2 separate regions of the Homo sapiens genome follow, and region 2 is linked to region 1. The links are contacts of gene promoters, found by promoter capture Hi-C in blood cells and fetal thymus (Javierre and others, 2016). All regions are on one chromosome and are shown on one strand. Each heading gives the region's core, a stretch centred on a gene start or on the middle of the fragment in contact. The rest is flanking DNA. Distances are from core to core; before and after follow the strand shown.

The links. Contacts are between HindIII fragments. The CHiCAGO score rates a contact against its expected background, and 5 or more counts as called.
Region 2: a contact is called between a fragment that was not itself captured here and the fragment with the promoter of ANGPTL1 in region 1, in 1 of 17 cell types (total B cells). The highest score is 5.8, in total B cells.

Annotation. Positions count from the first base shown.
Region 1 is chr1:178,869,629-178,874,789 of GRCh38, forward strand. ANGPTL1 (angiopoietin like 1) reads right to left here and starts at 1,449. Exons shown (of 6, transcript NM_004673.4): 1 at 1,113-1,449. All of the region lies in intron 8 of RALGPS2 (Ral GEF with PH domain and SH3 binding motif 2), which reads left to right. The HindIII fragment of the contact is 10,209 bases long and covers 1-3,856 here.
Region 2 is chr1:178,776,238-178,781,398 of GRCh38, forward strand. RALGPS2 (Ral GEF with PH domain and SH3 binding motif 2) reads left to right here. Exons shown (of 20, transcript NM_152663.5): 2 at 445-584. The coding sequence starts at 528. Among named protein-coding and RNA genes, the nearest start is that of RALGPS2-AS1, 53 kb to the left of the region's middle. The HindIII fragment of the contact is 4,507 bases long and covers 600-5,106 here.

The DNA of each region.
Region 1 (5,161 bases), core at 199-2,698:
GTGTTTAACAGAAATCCTGCCAGCATTTACAGTTTTAAATCTTTAAGGAAAGGACACAAAAGCAAAGTTGGAAAAAATTTTAGCTTTACCATTATTTGCTTGTTCAAGATTCTTAACCATTAATATCTTTAATTTTTACAAGGCTAAAGGAGCCCCAAATCTAACAAACTTAAGTGTCTTTGGTTTAAGGCATACTATTGGTAACGAGTAATTTTATCTTTAATAGTTTTTATAATGCATGTAAAAAAAGCTCCCAGATAGAATATTGAAGGAAACCTCTTATGTGTGCTTAACAAAATTATTTCTACCTAAAATATTACATATTTTTGGCCTTTTAGTCATGAATTTAATTACATCTTCTGGGTTCTTATTTTCTATTGTTAATACCACTTACATAATGCTTTTGTGTGTATATCAATAACTTAGCTTTTCCAAGTGATTCCATTTGTAGCAAGTTTAATTTCTGTCATCCAAATTAAATTACTATTACATGTAAGCCTGGAAAGCTATTTAAAATTTTGAGTTGGAACAAGAAATGCCATAGATTAATCTTAAATCTGTACAAGAATTTCTGCTTAATATTTGGTTATACTGTAATTGAGATTTTGTTGCAAAGACTTTCAACTATTTTTGTATCTTAGCTTTGTTTTATGACTACACTGAGAAATCCAACAGTTTATGTATATCTTCAGCACACACACTGTGGCTGCAGGAAGAGAAACTAATTGTGTTCACGACTATTTAGTTTGTATTCCTTTGTTTTTAATCATTGTGCTGTAAGCCTTATACATTTAATCTGTTACTTGTTAAAATTTCTTTCTACTGTCACTAAAGCACTTGTTTTCAGAAACCCAGCATGGCATGCATGTATCAGTCTGTAATCATATACACTAAACATCATTAAATTGAACCTCAAATAATGCATTAACCATTGCACAGTACTTAATGTTTTTATGTCAAGTTGCAAGATAAAACCTTTTTCAGATGAGATAAACTGTAGTATATTCCAAAGGTCTTTGTTTAGTAAAAGATTCTGAAATTTCTACTACAAATATAAAATAGTTATGCATTTGCTATACATAATATTTTTAAATAAAAGAAATATTAAATACCTTTTTGTGTCTGTTGATTCAGTGAATCCAGAAACTTGCTGCCCTTATTCTTGATTTTAAAAATCAGTGTAGAAGTTTGTTCATCTGTGACTTTAATGGCAGCTGCATTTTTGTTTTGGACCGTTGAATCCAAGCTGTAAGAAGGAACTTCTTTTTCCTTTTACAATACTAATCAATTGAATTTGACAAGCCACCTATGTAATTTTAAGTAGTATAGTGGAAGTTCTGGTCTGTGGGCCGTCTTTAATCCAGCAGAGAAAGCGTTGTGGCTTTGCTCTGTCTGCCACATGGAGAAATGCAGTAACCAGCTGCAGCTGACCCAGATTGTATATACAGTACCCCTGAATAGTGATTCCCTCTTTCTCAGTAGACTCAAGTTCAGCCCACATATTACATCACCAAAAATTGCTGGAGACTGGGGGCGGGAATCTCCTTAGGATTTCCTCTTTGTAGCCTTAAATAGGGGGGTGGGATCAGCAGGAGGTTGAATAGTTTTGAACAAGGAGAGATTGTGTGCAGGTTGAAGGAAGGGCACCATCTGGAAACAAACTATCATAGTTCAGCGGGCAATTATAAAACAAACATTTTAGTCTGCTGGCCAGAGATCTTTTAAGTTGAATACCGAAAAAAAAAATAGTGCTCCACTTCACTTAGAAGTAGTTGCAGGCTGATGAGTTTGGTTTTTGTTAACAAAGAACAAGAGCTAGACTTTGTCAGGAGGCAGCCACCTAAATAATGTAATAAATACTCTTTATAGCCTAGAAGAATTTGTAAACATTTTACTAAGTTGCTAATGAAGGTTTTAAACTTACAAGAAACTTGATGTTGTTGTAGTATGTTATGTCTTACTGTGTAATGTGTCTTAAGATAAAACAGCCTTTATATATAATTACCAAACATAAGTGAAATTCTTTCAGATGCTTAAGACTTTTAAATATTACATTCTGGTGTTACATAATGTCATATCCTCCTATTCTACAAAATGACCTCTCCTCTCTGTAAAAGGTCATTCTTGTTATTAATTGATGTGGTGTGGTTTAAAAACAAACATAACCCTGAACTGAGTAAAAAACAAGGAAGCTCTGACTCTATGCCAGCTATGTGAACTTAGACAAATCACTTTACCTGCCTCTGGCAAGGTTCTTCTGCTATGAAATAAGGTGGTGGAAGAAATGAATAAGTGTTGAGTACAACTATACTATTGTATTTCATTAATTGAAGAAATGTTAAATAACTCAGTAGCTGAAGAAACACAAACTTAGGCTTAAGTAACTTAGCTTAGCACTTAAGTACTAAGTAGTGGAACTGGGATTTGAATCTAATGCCAAAGCATTATGCCACACTCTCTGTCATTGATTACCTAGTTGCTGTAAGCTGCTTCTAGATAAAACTTTTGGGCTTTCTCTACATACCTGTGCTTTCCCTTCCTTATTGCTGTAGCTTGTGCTGTGTTTCTCTTTCTGTTAGGCCACACTGTTGATCCACATCCTTTATTTAAAGTCTGAGCTTATTTTCTACCTCTTTCACAGAATCATTTATTTGAATTCCTATGCCATATATAGGTATACCAGAGGTTGCAAACACAAGGGCCTAGAAAGGCAAATGCTCACAAGAAGAATGGAGCAGGTAATATAAATCAGTGAAGTAAATCAGTAGTAAGATACTGGAGGGAAATGAAGTTTATGGCAAGTTGGCATCCTTTTGGTTAATTTAAAGGGATCTGCCTGCACCTTCTCAGCTGTGCTTGTGGCCATGAAGGATTATGAGACAGTGTTGCCAGATCTTCCCATTATTCAGGAAAAAAGAGCCATTTAGATTTTTCCTGTAATACTTCCTGATTTTAAAAAACATTGGGACAGATGTGCTGCCAGCTTCTGGCCTCTGATTTGTATTATGTATCGTTTCTTGAGCATTCAGTAATTATGTTGTAGTCACTAATGGCTTAAATCTGGGAAAAATAAGAGATAATAAATTCTTTCTGAGCTTTTAAACTTTCAGCAGTTTGGAGCTTTCTAACTTGAGCACTTAGTAATATCACTAGCCAGGGTAGGAAATTGGAATGACAGGTATTTAGGGACAGATTATGGTTAGATATGTTAAATTGAAAATGAAAGTCAGGAGCTCAGTTATATGGAGAGATTTGAAAGTCACCAGCAATTAGGTAGTAGCTAAAGCTATGGAACTAAGATACTAGAGAAAGTACATGTAGAATGTAAAGGAAGGTTAATGACAGACCATGATACCAATTTCCAGGAAACCAGCTTACAAGAAACATGAGGAAAAAGAAGAATGGTGGGGGCTTAGGGGGAAGATACGAAAGTTCAAGGTAGGGAAAACCTGAGAACTAGACGAGAATGGTTACAATACTGCAGAGACATTACATAGGGAGGGGAGACCAAGAGAGATGTTTTAAGACTTAGAATGAGAAAGTTATTAATGCCATTGCCAAAATAAGTGATACATACAGATTTCAGATTATTTAGTGTGTTGAAGGGTGACTAGATAAAATTTAACTGACAAATTAGTGTCCACAATACATTAAGAAATTAGAAATCCATAAGAAAAAGACAACCCAAAAGAAAAAATGAACAGAAACATTTATTACATAGAAATATATACGTTTAACCTTATTACTAATCAAGGAAATAAAAATTAAGACACAGAGAGATACCATTTTATACTCAGAAGATTGGCAAAATTGAGATGGATAATACCAATTGTTAGCACAAATGTGGATCAACAGAAGCTTATATACCGTGAGTGGGAGTATGAATTGATACAGCTTTGAAAAATAATGTGACACCATCTTGTAAAGTTGAATATTAATATACTTTAGCACTTGGCAGTTTTGCTCCTAGGCATGTTTGTATATCCTGAAGAAATTTTGTACATGTGTACTGGGAGATGTGTATAAGAATGTCTATAGCAACATGGTTGGGGGTGGGATGGGAGTAACTCAAAAGTCTATCAAATAAAATGGATGAGTTACAATTGTCACACATTAGCTTGTTCTCATTATAAGGAATTACAGCAGCATTTAACAGCGTGGACAAGTCTTAGAAACAAAATAGACGAAGCAACCACAGAAGACCATATTTTTAAATTTTATTTAATAAATGCTTATAAATCACTTGGTATGTACTAGACACTTTTTTTTTGAGACGGAGTCTTGCTCTGTCACCCAAGCGGGAGTGCAGTGGTACGATCTCGGCTCACTACAAGCTCCGCCTCCTGGGTTCTCGCCATTCTCCTGCCTCAGCCTCCCATACTAGACACTTTTCTAACATTACAAATACTATTATTTAATCCACACATACAATAAAATATGATTTTTAAAGCTCAAAAATAGGCAAAAGTAGGAATACAGACAAATGTCGGGGAAAAAATAAGGGAATGATCTTAAAGTTCAAGGTAATGGTTACTTCTGGACAGGAAGCAAGGAGATGAAGTAGAGAAGGAACATACAGATAGATGCAACAGTATTGATGATGTCGTAGTTCTTTTTTAAAGTAGTTTACCCCAACATATTAAAATATTAACATGTAACCAATAAAAAAGTTAATAGATATTTTACATTAATTTTTCATGTTAACTCTTCAAAATCTTGTCTATTTTATATTCAAATACACCTCAATTCAGAATAGACCCACGAAACAGTAGTCACATGTGGCAAGTGGTTATATTGGACAGCACAGTATAGCGAGTGACTACAGGCGAGTTGTCATCTGAGTTTAATAAGATGGAAGAATGGCAAGAACTGGCACATTAGTACCCCGCTCAAATCCCACTTCTTCCTTGAAGCTTTCTCTGATCCCATCAGCAAGGAATGACATTTTTTTGCACAGAATTCTTATGAAACTCCTGTTTAAACTTTTCTGTGCTACTTTTTTATATCTTCTATTGCTGTTATTGATGTACATATGCCAACATCCCCGTGCCATTTCCTTGAGGAATCTTTTAGCTCTCCTTAGGGATGTTGTAGTCATAAGTTGACTGGTCTTTCACAAATGTTTATTATGTTGTTTGATAACAACAAGTGTCACATGTGT
Region 2 (5,161 bases), core at 1,603-4,102, 92 kb before region 1:
GTGATATGTTGGTAATCTAGATCACTAGCTGTGATAAGCTTATTCAGTATTGTTGATTTACAGGTGTCATTTGGATCGCTAAAAATTTATTGTGTTGTGGTATGTGTTACTTTGCCACCTGTGTTTTTACACATTTTATTTACTTTAAGAAAGTTGTACATTTGATTTTTTTCCCTCGCAATACCCACTTAGCGAAAAGTTATGCTTTTGCTTTGCTTATGAAGAACATAACAATAACATCTATTGAATACTGTTTATTTGGTGTTCTGATTGTTTGAAAAGAGCATACAAGATTGTCCTCAGTTTGGATTTAGCGACTGAGCTAAGATAATAAATAGAGTTTAGTGAAGTTGAAATTTTTGTTTCTTGGCATGGTGGTAGGCATAGAGTTGTTTTCTTGAACTTCGAGGAAGACATTTGCTTAACTTTTTTTTTTTTTTACAGGAATAATGTATTTGTGGCCTTGGACATGAGGCAGTCAGTCCTCTGTTGCTGTTAACATAAGGTCAGGGACTGATGAGGAAAGCATGGACCTAATGAACGGGCAGGCAAGCAGTGTCAATATTGCAGCTACTGCTTCTGAGGTAAGATATTTAAGAAGCTTGGGTGTAAAGTTTCTTACCTGGCTTTCTAATTTTTCAAGCATTATGTTTGTTCACATACTTAAATCAGAAGTGCATTTAGTGCAGAAATACACATTTCCTTTTTTTTTAAATTTTATTTTTTTTTATACTTTAAGTTTTAGGGTACATGTGCACATTGTGCGGGTTAGTTACATATGTATACGTGTGCCATGCTGGTGCGCTGCACCCACTAACTCGTCATCTAGCATTAGGTATATCTCCCAATGCTATCCCTCCCCCCTCCCCCCACCCCACCACAATCCCCAGAGTGTGGTATTCCCCTTCCTGTGTCCATGTGAAATCTCCTTAAGCTGATAAGCAACTTCAGCAAAGTCTCAGGATACAAAATCAATGTACAAAAATCACAAGCATTCTTATACACCAATAACAGACAAACAGACAGCCAAATCATGAGTGAACTCCCATTCACAATTGCTTCAAAGAGAATAAAATACACAGGAATCCAACTTACAAGGGATGTGAAGGACCTCTTCAAGGAGAACTACAAACCACTGCTCAAGGAAATAAAAGAGGATACAAACAAATGGAAGAACATTCCATGCTCATGGGTAGGAAGAATCAATATGGTGAAAATGGCCATACTGCCCAAGGTAATTTACAGATTCAATGCCATCCCCATCAAGCTACCAATGACTTTCTTCACAGAATTGGAAAAAACTACTTTAAAGTTCATATGGAACCAAAAAAGAGCCTGCATCGCCAAGGCAATCCTAAGCCAAAAGAACAAAGCTGGAGGCATCACACTACCTGACTTCAAACTATACTACAAGGCTACAGTAACCAAAACAGCATGGTACTGGTACCAAAACAGAGATATAGATCAATGGAACAGAACAGAGCCCTCGGAAATAACACCGCATATCTACAACTATCTGATCTTTGACAAACCTGAGAAAAACAAGCAACGGGGAAAGGATTCCCTATTTAATAAATGGTGCTGGGAAAACTGGCTAGCCATATGTAGAAAGCTGAAACTGGATCCCTTCCTTACACCTTATACAAAAATCAATTCAAGATGGATTAAAGACTTAAACGTTAGACCTAAAACCATAAAAACCCTAGAAGAAAACCTAGGCATTACCATTCAGGACATAGGCATGGGCAAGGACTTCATGTCTAAAACACCAAAAACAATGGCAACAAAAGACAAAATTGACAAATGGGATCTAATTAAACTAAAGAGCTTCTGCACAGCAAAAGAAACTACCATCAGAGTGAACAGGCAACCTACAAAATGGGAGAAAATTTTCACAACCTACTCATCTGACAAAGTGCTAATATCCAGAATCTACAATGAACTCAAACAAATTTACAAGAAAAAAACAAACAACCCCATCAAAAAGTGGGCGAAGGACATGAACAGACACTTCTCAAAAGAAGACATTTATGCAGCCAAAAAACACATGAAAAAATGCTCATCATCACTGGGCATCAGAGAAATGCAAATCAAAACCACAATGAGATACCATCTCACACCAGTTAGAATGGCAATCATTAAAAAGTCAGGAAACAACAGGTGCTGGAGAGGATGTGGAGAAATAGGAACACTTTTACACTGTTGGTGGGACTGTAAACTAGTTCAACCATTGTGGAAGTCAGTGTGGCGATTCCTCAGGGATCTAGAACTAGAAATACCATTTGACCCAGCCATCCCATTACTGGGTATATACCCAAAGGACTATAAATCATGCTGCTATAAAGACACATGCACACGTATGTTTATTGCGGCATTATTCACAATAGCAAAGACTTGGAACCAACCCAAATGTCCAACAATGATAGACTGGATTAAGAAAATGTGGCACATATACACCATGGAATACTATGCAGCCATAAAAAATGATGAGTTCATGTCCTTTGTAGGGACATGGATGAAATTGGAAATCATCATTCTCAGTAAACTATCGCAAGAACAAAAAACCAAACACCGCATATTCTCACTCATAGGTGGGAATTGAACAATGAGAAATACACATATTTTAACTTTTATTTTAGTGATTCGTATGTTCCCTGTGCATCATAGGTATACTTAATCCTTATCTACTTAAGATACTTGAAAAATAATGACAAATAATGGTAACTCATAAAACTCTTTATTTTTAAAAGAAACATAGAATTTCTTTTTAGAGTATTTTTACATTACATCATCCTTGAGGGCAATAATGCAAGTAAGGCAAAGAAAGATTCTTTTACTTGGAATCACTAAATTTTGGACCCATCTAGATCCCTTGATTCCACATATATTAGAGGAAACAAAAGAACCGTTAGGCTGGAATGTTGTAAGGGCTTACTCTGCTGATGTAGTTTAGCATTTAAGATGGAGATGTGAAGACTGAACTAGATGCTCACCCCTCTAGTTAATATATTATGATTGTATTTTTGCCCCAACTTTTTTATTTTTTTCTTTGTGTATAAATCTAGGGAACTTGCCTGCTTTCCTTAATAACTTTAGCATCTGGCTTCTATATTTCTTATTTTTCTCTTAGTATATTGGATGAGAATAATGTTTATGACCCTTTAACACCTTGACCTCAAAGTTCCTTAATAGCCCCAACTCCATTTTGCCCCAGCTAGTTACTTAGGCCTTGATATCACTGAAAATAGTCTAAGTCTATGGTTTCAATTGTTTTTGTTATGTAGATGATTTATTTTTATCTCTAGCCCTGGCTTCCCTCATGAATTTTATTAAGCATTTTTGATGGACCAGACATTTTAATGTCCACAAAATCAAGTTTCTTATTACTGTTCTGCTCCACAACCATAAAGAAAATAGTCCAAGCCTTTTCTCTAACTTAGGTTAATAGCATCACATTTCCATAGCCATCTAAGTTTAAATCTTTAGATGTGTTGTTTATTTGTGGTGGGGTTTGAGACAGAGTTTTGTTCTTGTTGCCCAGGCTGGAGTGCAGTGGCACGATCTGGGCCCATTGCAACCTCTGCCTCCCAGGTTCAAGCAATTCTCCTGCCTCAGCCTCCCCAGTAGCTGGGATTACAGGTGCTTGCCACCACGCCTGGCTAATTTTTGTATTTTTAGTAGAGATGGGGTTTCACCTTGTTGGCCAGGCTGGTCTTGAATTCCTGACATCAGGTGATCCACCTGCCTTGGCCTCCCAAACTGCTGGGATTATAGATGTGAGCCACTGCATCCGGCCAATGTGTTGTTAATTTTTGCCCACCACAACCATTGTCTCATCATAGCAGAGAGAATCTGCTAGCAAGACAGAAGTTACAATCTTATATAACGTAATCATGGAAGTGACATCTCATCTCCTTTTCCATATTCTGCTGGTTAGAAACAAGTCACAGGTTCTGCCCACACTCAAGGGGAGAGGATCACACAGGGTTGAGAATACCAAGAGATAGAGATCTTTAGCAGCTATCTTAGAGCCTGTCCACTGTGCTTTATCTCTGGGATCCAGTACTTTTCTCCTTATTTCTATTACTGTACTACCATGTTAGTTTGGTCGTTTATTATTTCTTGTCTAGATTAGTGCCATGACCTTTTAGTTGGGTGTTGCACTTATATTTTCTGTTGTTTCTGATCCTTCAACTGAAATTTAAGTTTAATATTCTTAAAATACAGCTCTTAAACTTTATCTTTTCTCAAAACTGTCTGTGGTTCCTCATTGCCTACTAATTAAATTTAAATGCCCACTGAGCCTTTTATTCAAGACTTTCTTCAAAATGGCCCCAAATTTTTGGATTTAACCCCTACTAATCCTCTACTTGAAACTTAACAGTCTAATGAGAGAATACTACATTTGCTGTTGTCTGTATAAACTATTACATTTTCCTTCTTCTGTCATAACTTTGCCTATACCAATGTTTCTAGCTGGAATTTTTCTTCCCATTCTGGTGTGTCCCCTCCCCATCACTGCACACACAAAAAGTTTTGTCTTTCAAACATATTTCAAATGCTATGCTTTTAATAAAGCCTCTCCTAATCCCTTAAACAGATGGGAGCTTTCCTATTTTTAAAACTGTCACTTAGAAAAATCTCTTTCTGTAATTTTCTCCGTAAATGTATGCATAGCTTTTTTATATTTACAACCATAAGATTATGTTTATATATATGTTTGTAATATATGTTTGTTTTCTTTGTATATTTATAACCATATTTCTTGAATATGTTATATATATATATATGTATGTGTATATTTTTAACTATATATCCAGAAATACCTGTTCTAGTATCATAGGAAGCAGAATACAAATATTTGTTAAATAAAATAGATCATTTCACTTGTACAAACAATTCTGTTGACTTTACCAAAAGTGAATTAATTACATCAGGCTTCAGAGTAGTATAATTAGCAGTTATAAAGTAAGAGTGAAAAAAGTCTGCCCTTTAAATTGTCCATTTATTGTGGCAAGAAAATAAAATTAAAAATCTGTATTTTCCACCTTCTCTCAAATTATAGGTCTAGTAACATCAAAGTACAAATTTCTTATAGAAGTGATAAGCTTACAGAATGGATAAAATACTTTATCCTTTTATATTTAACTCGTGTTTGAAG